Regions from separate parts of the Homo sapiens genome. Here all the other regions are linked to region 1. Evidence: promoter capture Hi-C in 16 types of primary human blood cells and fetal thymus (Javierre and others, 2016). All regions are on one chromosome and are shown on one strand. Each heading gives the region's core, a stretch centred on a gene start or on the middle of the fragment in contact. The rest is flanking DNA. Distances are from core to core; before and after follow the strand shown.

Region 1 (4,015 bases), core at 290-2,789:
TTTCAGTAGCTAAAACATCCAGAAGCCTCTATTAAGATGCAAATACTTTTCACAGGCTCCTTTGAAGATGGAAAATAAATAAATACATAAATAAATAAAAATAAATTTTTTAAAAGATGCAAATACCTCCTGGGAAAGGTAACAAGCCATATCATGTAATTGTGCTCAATTCTCTGTAAGAGAAACTCTTCAGTTTCAGATACTCTTAGGTCTTAGGAATTGAAAGCTAAGATCCAGAGGATAAAAGGAGGAAGGAAAATTTGATCAAGAGGTGTATGGGAAAGGAGGTGGAAGAAGCCCTATATTATAGACTATAACAGTCTTTATATTCTACAGATCATCAAAAGTTCTGATTGGCCTTTAACCCCTTAACTTTCATCCCAATGACACACCCAACACCCACACAATGCAAACCAAAACTAAGACGCACAGAAAACTTGCAGAGTTAAAATGCACTGGTGCCTTGCTGTCTTCCATTATCTTACAAAATGGCAAAACTGCAAATGTATGCTTTTTAAAAAGCCAACTCAATGACTGTGTCCAATGAAGAGCCACTGACGTATGAGAGACATTAATAATTTTCTTTCAATATCACTAAACTAGCCTAATTTTATCTTTAAGACAAACTCTTGATTCCCCCCTTAAGGGCTTTTTTAGTTCAAACTATTAATAGACACAATAAATTAAAAAAAAAAAATTAAAGTCCCCAACATCTTCCTAGGAGCATTACACAACGAGATGACTTTGAACGACTTTCCTCAGGATATATTCCAGTGCCCTGTAGAGAACTTTCCCCATCCCTGTAGACATGTGAGTAAGTAAAGAACACCTCAAGAACAAACTTTGTTGGCCACCAGCAGGGGAGCTCTTCAGCTTTTGTCCCCAAATCCATTCAAACAAAAGAAGCTCCGACTCCTCCAACCCACCCTTCGGACCCGCACCCCGCGGGGACTCTCCAGATGCGGGTGTCCACTCCCCCGCCAGCCCTACTTACTCCTCAACGCCCCAATGAGCAGAGAGCCGTCCTTAATGAGCTCCTTGATGAACTTGTTGGTTCGCTCCAGCTCAATCTCGTGACACTGCAAGCGCTCCCTGAAATCTGGGCTGTCCAAGTAGGAATCGCTGAACTCCAGAGTGGGCAGCCCCATGGCACAGGCGCTGCCAGCGGCGGCCGCGGACACGTCCGGGCCGGAGGTCAGGGCGGGGGCAGCCGGCGGCCGCGGCGGGCGCTGGGGTCGCGCGATCGCGGGGAAGGCGCCGGGACGCGAGGGGACTGATTGCGCGGAGGAAACGGGCCCCGAGCGCCGCGCCGCCTGCGCCGGGCTCAGTCTTCCTCCCCCGAGGCTAGGCGAGCGCAGGCGCGGGCGGCGGGCCGAGGCGCGAGTCCCCTCAGGTTGTTGTCATCTGGACGCATCGTCGTTCGGAACGCGGGGGCGGCGAGGCTCCGGGCCGCGGCCGGAGCAGGAAAGTTTCTCTCACGGCGCGCAGACACTTCCGGCAGTTCCACTCCCCAACTCTCTTGACAGTCGTCGGCGTTGTGAGCCAGAAGCAGCGCACAGCCGCAACTCCGGCCGGGCTGGGGAAACCCTCCCCCTCGGCGGACGCAGGCTCAGAGCGCTTGCAAATCGCACCCGGGCTCCCAGACCCTCCTCCCCGCCGCCGCGCTCCCACCCAGCGCCACCCCGCCCCTTCGCCCCTTTGCCCTCCTGCCCCACCCGTCCGCCCGCACTGGGCTCCAGGGCTCCCCGCGCTGCAGCCCCGCGCTTGCGCTCCGGCCTTGGCTGGGGTGTTAGCCCTGTCCCCTCTTGGGCCCCTGGTTTCGGCTAGCCCTTGGTGACACTTCGGGGTCCCTCGCTCCACAAAAGGATCTGACTCCCAATATACCTCCCCTAACAGTGTCCCCTCCACCCACTCCCTACAATTCTCTGGGAGAAAAACCAACGTTAAGTTTCCCTAAAGTCTGAGTATTTTGAAGCGTAGATGGAAGATACTACTGTCTAGCGTTCGTTTAGATTTTACTTCACACTTCCCCACCGAATGCATTTGAATTCCACGTTGAAAAATTGTCCCGTCGCTCTCCCACCCCTCAGCTTCAATGATCCAGCCTGGAGGTGTTTCTTCCCCCTGCCCCCACTCCATAGCTGGGAAGGTGGGACGATTTTTCAAGTCATCCTCACTCTGCTTACGTGCTCCTACTTCTAGTAGAATACCTATTTGCATCACAATAGTAGTATCTCCTATTGGCACCTGGATGGAATTGTCCTAGGAGCGGGAAAATTTTCAAATTGTTGAAGTGGACTGGAGTTTGAAATAAATAGTTAACTCCTACCCACAGGCTTTATCCTTCCTCCGGTGGAGGTTCACCTAATAAATTTCTGTTCTCTTAAAACCTTGACAGCAAAAGAAACGACTGCTTTACATCTCGTCCTGACATCATCTATAGGATTTCTGAGAACTCGGATATTGTTCTTAAGGATCTGCTTTTAATTTCTGCATTTTCATTGCTTTGTCCATATGAACCATCTGTTTAAAAACTATTCTACAGATCATGGGAAAAATTCCACTAAAGTGCTTTACATTTTTCCCAATTAAGTTTCAGAGCCAGTCAAGATTCTTGGTTTCAATTTTTTAAATGTACAGGAACATTAAAAATAACATGTAAACCTAAAACAGATAAGATAATGTAAACAGTATGGGCCAGGCGCAGTGACTTAACGCCTGTAATACCAGCATTCTGGGAGGCTGATGCAGGAGAATCACTTGAGGTCAGGAGTTGGAGACCATACTGGCCAACACGGTGAAACCCAGTTTCTACTAAAAAATACAAAAATTAGCTGGGCCTGGTGGCGCACGCCTGTAGTCCCAGCTACTTGGGAGGCTGAGGCAGGAGAGTCACTGGAATCCGGGAGGCGGCGATTGCCATGAGCCGAGATTACGAGATTACTCCACCGCACTCCAGCCTGAGTGACAGAACGACTCCATCTCAAAACACCTTCCATCCATATTCACATCTTTGGCCCCATATTGGCAAAATGACCAGTCACTATTAGAGCCATTTTAACTCCAAGTGTTAAATTTGTTTTTGTTAACTAAATACTCTTCAATTTTTTTTTTCTTTTGCAGGTTTGGGGAAGGGAGAGGCAGTAATTCTGTTTGTCAGTTAATGAAATGACATGACATAAACACCAGTGGACTGTGTCTCACCAGAGGTGATTTTGTATTTACTCATTACTCTGCCTGAAAGACAAAAAATCACCCAGGCCAAACAGTTTCCTTTCAACTTTTGCCATGTTGCTGTTCCTATCAACTGAATCCAGTGCCAAACTGCTGAGATACGAAACGATAAAATATAACATTCTCTTCTTGTTTTTCATTAAATCATCGTACTGTGATTAAGTCTTTAAAAATGCATCATTGGTGTTTCATAAGTTGCATTTAATATGTTGGATGTCAATGTTTAGTTTTCTTTAAAAGTGTTACATGCCAGGGCAGATGTATTGTACATTCTATGATACAGGTTATCATTTGCCCATTCATGTATGTAATGATATGTTTTATGTCTACTGTCTACATTACTAAGGTCTGGGTGGGGAAGTGATTTCTATAAAAAGACAGAAGCATTATCCGTGACCTCAAGCAGTTCTCAGAAAAAGGAAATGTGGAAAATAAGTACCCATAAAGCATAAGGCAGAATATGCTGTGTTCCACAGCCTCACACAGATGCTGTACTAATAATACATTGATGCTATTGTTTATCAATATGTTTCCACTCAGGCCCATCATTGCATTTACATGGAATTAGGATTTTTTCTCCTACCCTTCACTCATGATTCCCTAAAGTTTATCATGTTATAATGGGCTTATTTCTTGTAGGTGTTTTCATAGTTACTCATGCTTATTCCTATGATTCATACTTTAATTATACCTGCTAGTCAGGCTTTCTCTTATGCCACATTAACACAGCTACTTGAGAAAAACCAGAAATGCTTTTGCTTTGAGGTGGGTTTACTGTCGG
Region 2 (4,512 bases), core at 599-3,098, 260 kb before region 1:
TTGATTGAGCTTTGCAGATACTGCATTTTTAACAAATTGATGGTTTGTTTGTGTCAACCCTGTGTTCTGCATGTCTATCAGCACCATTTTTCCAAGAGCGTTTGCTCACATCGTGTCTCTGTATCACATTTTGGTGATTCTTGCAATATTTGGAATTTTTCATTGTTATTATATCTATCATGTGATGTATGAACAGTGATCTTTGATATTACTATTGTCATTATTTTGGGGTGCCATTAACCATGTCCACATAAGATGGCAAACAGTCAATAAAAGTTGTGTGTGCCACTGCTCCACTGACTGGCCATTTCCCCATCTCTTTCCCTCCCCTTAGCTTCCCTATTCCCTGAGATACAACAATATTAAAATTAGTCCAATCAATAATCTCACAATGACCTCTAAGTGTTCAAGGGAAAGGAAGATTCACATGTCTCTCATGTTAAATCAAAAGCTATAAATGACCAAACTTAGTGAGAAAGACATGTTGAAACCCAAGATAGCCTAAAAACTAGGTCTCTTGTGCCAATCAGTTAGCCAAGCTGTGAATGCAAAGGAAAAATTATTAAAGGAAATTAAAAGTGCCACTCCAGTGAATACACAAACGCTAGGAATCAAAACAACCTTACTACTGACATGGGGAAAGTTCTAGTGGTGTGTATAGAAGATCAAACCAGCCATAACATTCTCTTAAGCCAATGCCTTTTCCACAGCAAGGCCCTGACTGTCTTCAATTTTATGAAGGCTGAGAGAGGTGAGTAAGCTGCAGAAAAAAAGTATGAACCTAGCAGAAGTTGGTTCATGATGTTTGAGGAAAGAAGCCATTTGCATAATATAAAAGTATAAGATGAAGCAGTAAGAGTTGATGTAGAAGCTGCAGCAAGTTATACAGAAGATCTAGCTACAATCATGGATGAAGGTGGCTACAGTAAACAACAGATTTTCAATGTAGATGAAATAGCCTTCTGTTGGAAGATGCCCTCATTTAAGACTTCCACAAATAGAAAGAAGTCACTATCTGGCCTCAAAGCTTCAAATAGGCTGACTCTTGTTAGAGGTTAATGTAACTGGTGACTTAAAGTCAGAGCCAATGTTCATATATCATTCTGCAAATCCTAGGGTTCTTAAAAATTATGCTAAATCTACTCTACCTGTGCTCTACAAATGGAACAATAAAGGCTGAATGACAGCACATCTGTTTACAGTAAGGTTTACTGAATATTTTAAGCCACTGTTGAGACCTTCTGATTAAAGAGGTTTATTTCTAAATATTACTGCCCATTGACAATGCAACTAGTCACCCAAGAGTTCTGATAGAGATTTAAATGGAGAATAATATATTCATGCCTGCTGACACAACATATATTATGTAGCACATGGATCAAGGAATAAGAGGAATAAGTTAGACTTCTGAGTCTTATTATTTAAGAAACACATTTCATTAGGCTTTCACGGCCATAAGTAGTGATTCCTCTAATGGATCTGGGTAAAGTACACTGAAAACCTTCTAGAAAGGATTCATCACTTTAGATGTCATTAAGAACATTTGTCCCTCGTGGGAGGAAGCCAAAATATCCACATTAACAGCAGTTTGAAAGAATTGATTCCAACTCTCAGGGATGAGTTGGAGGGGTTCAAGACTTCAGTGGAGGAAGTTACTGCAGATGTAGTGAAAATAGCAAAAAAGCTAGAATTAGAAGTGGAGCCTTCTAGAAAATGTGACTTTATTGCTGCAATCTCATAATAAAACTTGAAAGGACTAGTTGCTTCTTATGGATGGGCAAAGAAAGTGGTTTACTGAGATGGAATCTTCTCCGGGTGAAGATGCTATAAACGTTTTTGAATGACAACAACGGATTTAGAATATCATATAAACTTAGCTGACAGTGCAGTAGGGCAGGGTTTGAAAGGACTGACTCCAATTTTGAAAGACGCCCTACTGAGTAAAATGCTATCAAACAGCATTGCATGGTACAGAGAAATCTTTGTTGAAATGAAGATTCAATTGATGTGGCAAACTTTATTGCTGTCTCATTTTAAGAAAATGGCCACAGCCACCCCATCCTTCAGTAACCACCATGCTGATCAGTTAGCAGCTACCAACATCGAGGCAAGATCCTTCACCAGCAAAAAAATTACTACTCACTAAAGACTCAGATGACCATTCACATTACTTAAAATATTTTAAGGGATGTATATTTTTTACACATAATGCTATTGCACACTTAATGGACTGCAGTGTAGCATAAACATAACTTTTATATGCACCGAGAAACTCAGAAATTTCTGTGACTCAGTTTATTATGATATTCGCTTTATTACAGTGGTTTGGAACCTAACCTGCAATATCTCTGAGGTATGCCTGTAGCTATAGGCTGTAGTTTATGAGCATATATAGAAAGTCATCATATACAAAGGGTATACATGGATACACACAATAAGCTAGTGTATTTAGAATATTGTGGCACTAATGCAGGAGAAGAAAGATAGATCATGGATTACAGAGCAGAGAGCAAGAAGCATACCCATTCTTATTGTAAACTTAAATTATACACTTAGATTCACGACATTTATATCTCTTCCAATACTTTGGGCTAAGAATACCCGGAACAGTGCTTTGCACACAGGAGGCATCCTGGAGGCATTAAACTTAGTTGGCTGAAAGAAGCTTATAGTATTCCCACCTGCATCTTATTCCTTAGAAGCAAGGCCACCAAGCTTCCAAAGCCCACCAAAAGGCTGATCCTGGAGCCATGAAATATGCCATTGGATTCCTTCATGATGATGGGGACCATGAGGCCACTACATGCACTTTCTCCTAATACAGTCATTTATATTGATTTTTCAGATTCTGCTTTGAGTGATGCTACTGTTTTCTAGCATCATGGATCTGATTTGCTTTTTCGAAAGCATCATGTAATAACAACATGAAAGAAAGAGATAAACATGTATACTGTTTTTTAAAAGACTAAAAAACACTTGAATGCTGTTTCATGTTTATATTTAAATACAGAAAGAGACACCGTTTAGCTTATGAAAAAAATAAAGTGAAAAGAACAGCTCAAACCTTTCAACTACTTCTATGTCAAAGCAGAATCGTTTGTCAATTGAATCTGTCTTTCGTCGGATACAAGATTTTAATTTAAACATTTCCGGTGAGCTAGTAACAAGGCCATTCTGAAACAAGAAGAGTACCACAGTATTAACATGCTGACAAGTGAATTGAAATATATTAAATATGTGAGCTCAAGTTGCCACATTAAAATGTTTAACAGTATAGGTTATGTATAAAGGTCACAATCATACCCTGTCTTTTTTTATTCCTGATGTTAGCTGTCCGATCATAATACATAAAACCATTTAATTAATGGCATATGCATGTTTTATTTAAAAGAATTATGTAACATGCCTGTCCAGTAACCTTCAACATATTTACTTACAATGTTAAATTATACTATAATGTACAATCCCTCAATTCTTAGATTTAGAAAACGTATGAAGTTACACAGTCACTTAACATCACAATTGGATATACAGAGTGCTTGTTAGGATACATTTGGTGCTCTTAATCAAAACTCCCTGGATTGCAAAGAGATTAGTATCATATGTGTGTCTTTGTATTAGAGCCTTAAATGATAACTAGCTCAGGTTTACAAGAGAGCTACGGAAATAATATAGTTCCAGTATATACATGATATAATAGTATTGCTACCATGTATATCAGGTTGGTGCAAAAGTAATTATGGTTTTCCCATTAAAAGTAATGGGAAAAAAAGCAATTACTTTTGCACCAACCTAATACAATGTGATTGTTTTGCTGGTAACCCACTGCTACACCGCTACTAAAACTGACTCTCTGGACAAGATCCAACATAGGCCACATTCATAGGAATTCTCTTTTGTCACTGAGATGCCAGTCTATGTTAAGGGGAACATTTACAGAATGTATGGTTAATTCTATCTTTGGCTACAAATGTCATCAATTGATTAATAGAACTTTGGCTTGGTCTACTTACATTATTAACTCACTGTCACATAAGTTGGATTTACAGTAGTAACTATTAGAGTAGAAACTAGGTGTGTTATGGCACTTAGTAACTTCCCAGGATGGTAGCAACTAAGGTTTCTTTTTCTCTGGTTATGTTCTCCTTTATTTTATGTCTTTCAGTTTGAATTATTAGACTCTGATGAATGCCCAAGTACAATAAGTTTCAACTGACATATTTGAGTATGTGTCTAAGTTAGATCAACATTTACCTCTGCCATGATCTATGCCACTAATTGGGCGAGGCACTTACTTTATACTAACTTTATTTCCTAATCTGTTAAAATAAGGCTGGACTAATTATCTCTAGTGTAACTCCCAGCTTCAGCGTGCTCAGATTGTGACCTAATTAATTCAAAAGTTCAATCATTTGCCATATTCATACTTTAACTCACAAGAAGATTATATGCCACAGACAATAAAGCTCTCTGCAGCATTTCCTCAAACAAAGTACATTGTATTCTATACTG
Region 3 (4,383 bases), core at 458-2,957, 280 kb before region 1:
CTGGGATGATTGCCCACTATACCAAATTCTTTCTCCAGAAAGTACCTTGACTCATAGGATTCACATTATGGGACTACCATTTCATCTGGGCGCAGTTATTTAGACATGGAGTGAGGAAAGAGCCTGGCTCAGGCTAAACATGAGGTCTAACCTAGCAATTGGAATGGAGACATCAAAAATCTGATCTTTCCGCATATGTGAAAAGGCAGATAATGTAAAATCAGGGCTGAAGTGACCAAATCTACTCCAAGAAAATCTGACTGGGAAGGAAAGTGAGAATGATAGAAATACAGTAGAGAACAAAGATGAGAGATCCTCCAGAAAGAGTGAGTAGAGAAATGTCAAATCCCAACTTGGCAGTTCCTGGTTGCAGGCTCATGGAAACCCTGACCTCTGTTCTGCCAAGGAATTCACTGAAATATCTCTTAGGATCTGAATAACTTCCCCTTTATACTGAGCTGGACTTTTGCTGCTTGAAACCAAATAACCTAATTTTCTTAACTTCACATCTAGTAAATATGGCTATGTTAGGTCCAGACAAAAGATGAGTTCTTATATATAAGATATATAAGATATTTTAAATATCATAGTCATGAATATTATTATAATAATATAATCATCATTTGCCACAGAAGCAAATGGAGAAAAAACTTGTGACCAAAAGCTTGACTAAAACAATAAGCTCATTGAGCCATTTTAGCCAAGTAGCTCAAATTTCTTTTGTTATAAAGCAAAATTTCTGTAAGAAAGGGTTCTGGGTTAAGAGTAAAAAGAACAAAAAACAGGCTTGCAGCCCTGATTTTGCCATGAATTTATTAGGGTCATTGTACATGTTACTTGCCCACTTTGTGTCCTGATTTCCTAGTTCATAGAATGAGAGGTCAGATTATATATTTTTTCTGGTCCTGTATGTCTTACAAAGATTTCTATGAAGAGGAGGTAGAGTGGAGAGCTTCAAGAGAAAACTAAATAGTGTAGATTTATATGAGATCATGTGGTTAGTCATAAATGCTGGATTGAAAACCGAGGTCATTCAACTTTATCTGACACTTTTATCAGCACACATTTCCTGTGACATTACAATGTGTGCAAATAAACTAAAGCAACTAATTTATTTCTTGGATTGTGAAAAATAATCTGGTTGTAGTCACACCTCATACATCTTAACAATGAAATGCCAGCTCTTAATTGTTACAGGTTGTTGTGATGGGCTCAGATGGTACCTGGCACTTCAGTCTCAATGGTTTACAAATACACGTTACTAACTTCTCAGATAACATATGTCAACTCTTCCTGCTAATATTTTAAATTGATCTATCTATTCATATCATATGACGGCAATCACAGATCTAAACAAATGACATAAATGTGATCATTGCAAATAAAATATGAGGGAGAGGGGATTGATGGAAGCACCTGCTGTCTGCCAAAAATATTTGACTCATCTCCAGATTGAGGAATACAGCACATGAGCATGTGCAGGGACATAATCGTCTGTACGTATTTAGAGTCCTGCTTAGTTGCTCTTAAAAGAAACTGGTATTTGTCATTCAAATAAAATGAAATTAGAATAATAATTCCTCATGGTTCTTTATAATCACCACACTTACCCAATGAGGTCTCACTAAGTGTCAAAATATTTCAGTTAATTCTGCAATTTCTTATTGGCTTCTAAAACACATTATAAATTACTAAATATCAGATTAACAACTTTTTTCTTTTTTTTAATTTGAGATGGAGTTTCGCTCTTGTTGCCCAGGCTGGAGTGCAATGGCGCGATCTCGACTCACCATAACCTCCGCCTCCTGGGTTCAAGTGATCCTCCTGCCTCAGCTTCCCGAGCAGCTGGGATTACAGGCATGTGCCACCATGCCCAGCTAATTTTGTATTTTTAGTAGAGACAGGGTTTCTCCATGTTGGTCAGGCTGGTCTCGAACTCCCGACCTCAGGTGATCCGCCAGCCTTGGCCTCCCAAAGTGCTGGAATTACAGGTTTGAGCCACCGCACCCGGCCCAGATTAACAACTTTTTAAGCAATACTTGAAAAAAATCTTCACTAGCTGATACTAGTAATATATGCCTAAGTATGGCAGCATAAAACTACATCAATTATAATGTGTATATGATGCAAGTATACTTACTAACAGCAATGATAAAATCTTTGTGCAACTTGTAAGTCATCAGTGGTTCTGCAAGGCACCTACAACAGAGAAAGGAAACACATGTTAGAATAGTAGAATCTTTTATTCTCCCCTAAACGTTAAGTGTTTCTTTAAGAATTAGGTGACTGTTATTCATCAATTAAAAATAAAATAACACATAAATAAGTAAATAAAAGAATTGGGTGATTTGGCAGTATGATAAAGTTCCAGTAGTGGGGCCACAGAGAGACCTGAAACGCAGACCTCGAAGACACCAATGTACTTCTTTCCATGACTGTATTAAGAGGGGAGACTGGGAGTCTCCCAATATCAGAATTACCTTACCAGAGGAACAAATATGGGAACAATAGTTAAAAAACAAAACAAAAACAACACAACTTTCCATTCCAATTTGTTATTTAAAAAAGTACATAAAAATCCCATATACATATGGGACAACAAATACTAATTCAGTACTCAAAATATTATATAGCCTTTTAAATTATTATTGAAAAAATCAAGTACAAGTTCCAGAACACTAAATGTAAATGTTACCATGTCATGCTATTTCACCTTATGTAAGGGAACTGAGCTACTGAGTGAAGCTTCTGGACACAGGCTCCAAGAAATCACGTGGTTACTACTCAAGGGGTGAGTCAGAGATTACATCCAGAGTACCAGGAGTTAAACCCTCCTCACCTGAGGTAGTTTTTCAGCCCACTTGTTATCGTCTTATTGTCCCACAGTTCAATATCAATATCAATATCAGGAGGGGATTTAGGAGCTGGAAAGAATAAAACAAGGTGTTTAAATTGTGCAGTTCAAAATATTTCTTATGCAATTATGAAAAATGGGCACAAACGTAAGTAGGTCAAAAGAGAGAGGTATTCATTTCTTAGAATGCCAAGAGTTAACATTAGTACTGTTGTTTGCGTGAATTGATAAAAAGCTGACACTAAACCTCAAAGATATATCTTATGAAATAAGTCTCCCAAATGAAATTATTGCTAATTGTTAACATGACAGAGCACTTACCATGTGCCTAGCATGCTTCTAAGTGCTTTACGGAGATTAACATAGTCAATCCTCACAACTCTTAAGAGGCAGGTACCATTATTATCCCTATTTTTATAAATGAGGAGGCTGAGACACAAAGACGTTAAGCAAATTACTCAAGGTCACAAAACCTGTAAGTGGCTGAGCTAGGATTCCAAATGACTCCAGCTAGCATCCATGCATCTTATTGTATCTCTAGCTTACCAAAGGACACTTGGGGAAAAAAAATACAGTATTATAAAAATGCCCCCTCAAATTCTCATCGTTCATCTATTATAAATGAACATTAAAAACTGAATACATATATGAACTTTAAATATTATTTGAAAATATTCAAAGACAAGCACTAGTCAAAGAAGTCCATACTTTAGATTACCTATAAGAACACAAAAATTATGTAAGTTGCTTCATCCAAAACTTACAAAATGTGGTATTCATGAGTTTTTGAACTTTGGAGTTCACTCCTCCTATTCGGTAGAGTCCTAAAATGGTGATACCTAATAGGAAGGAAAATCACAAGAAAACGGCTTGAGATACAGCTTGGCAAGTACAGAATGTTAAAAACTCAGACATATGCCTAACAAAATTTGAAAGCTACTTATCCAATTTCACAGTCTAACTTTAGCAAAGCTATCCTGGAAATACCCATCAGACTTCTATTTCTCAGAGCAGACACTGAACAGTGATTTGAAAGTCTTTGAAGATCTTCAAAGTAGCAAAGTGTAGCTGCCTATTCACCATTATTTGAATATAAAAAAGCAATGGAGATGGGAAGGGATGATCGATATTACTCATATTCTATTTCTTCAGAGTCATGGAGTCCTCCTGCATGTTGAAAAGTCCTATGGCATTTATATCTTCATTTTAGAGATGAGGAAACAGATTCAGAGAATTCAAGGAAACTACTTCTCAGAATGTTGAAGTGGCAGCACTTAAAATTTAAATATAAGTTTATGGAACTCCAAAACCCAATATGAATTTTGCTTTAGCCAAATTTTCCTAGAAGTGAGTTTAAAGTTTAACTGGAGTGGACTTCAAGACAGAGGTCATGATTAAAACGAAGAAAGGTACCAAAACTGTGGCAGTGACAAATCAGTAAAAGAAAGACTATAAGGAAGGAAGGGAGTGAAGACAAGCTCCTTAAGAATCTTACCTCCTTAATGCTTGGAAAAAAAAAAATCAAAGAG

The links. The method cuts DNA at HindIII sites, captures the fragments that hold promoters and counts their contacts. A CHiCAGO score of 5 or more calls a contact.
Region 2: a fragment that was not itself captured here is called in contact with the fragment with the promoter of ARHGAP42 in region 1 in 2 of 17 cell types (endothelial precursors and total B cells); the score reaches 6.9 in endothelial precursors.
Region 3: a contact is called between a fragment that was not itself captured here and the fragment with the promoter of ARHGAP42 in region 1, in 1 of 17 cell types (erythroblasts). The highest score is 5.6, in erythroblasts.

The regions. Positions count from the first base shown.
Region 1 is chr11:100,684,812-100,688,826 of GRCh38, reverse strand. It overlaps ARHGAP42 (Rho GTPase activating protein 42), which reads right to left and starts at 1,539. Exons shown (of 24, transcript NM_152432.4): 1 at 995-1,539. The coding sequence starts at 1,148. It overlaps ARHGAP42-AS1 (ARHGAP42 antisense RNA 1), which reads left to right and starts at 872. Exons shown (of 2, transcript NR_133571.1): 1 at 872-1,194; 2 at 3,124-4,015. RefSeq lists enhancers at 775-1,144, 1,465-1,514, 1,228-1,938 and silencers at 1,165-1,334, 1,635-1,824, 1,875-2,169. The HindIII fragment of the contact is 7,960 bases long and covers 1-4,015 here.
Region 2 is chr11:100,942,421-100,946,932 of GRCh38, reverse strand. It overlaps ARHGAP42 (Rho GTPase activating protein 42), which reads right to left. Exons shown (of 24, transcript NM_152432.4): 10 at 3,065-3,174. Among named protein-coding and RNA genes, the nearest start is that of SNORD13I, 10 kb to the right of the region's middle. The HindIII fragment of the contact is 1,638 bases long and covers 1,030-2,667 here.
Region 3 is chr11:100,960,225-100,964,607 of GRCh38, reverse strand. ARHGAP42 (Rho GTPase activating protein 42) reads right to left here. Exons shown (of 24, transcript NM_152432.4): 14 at 3,619-3,693; 15 at 2,840-2,924; 16 at 2,141-2,199. Among named protein-coding and RNA genes, the nearest start is that of SNORD13I, 28 kb to the right of the region's middle. The HindIII fragment of the contact is 2,081 bases long and covers 667-2,747 here.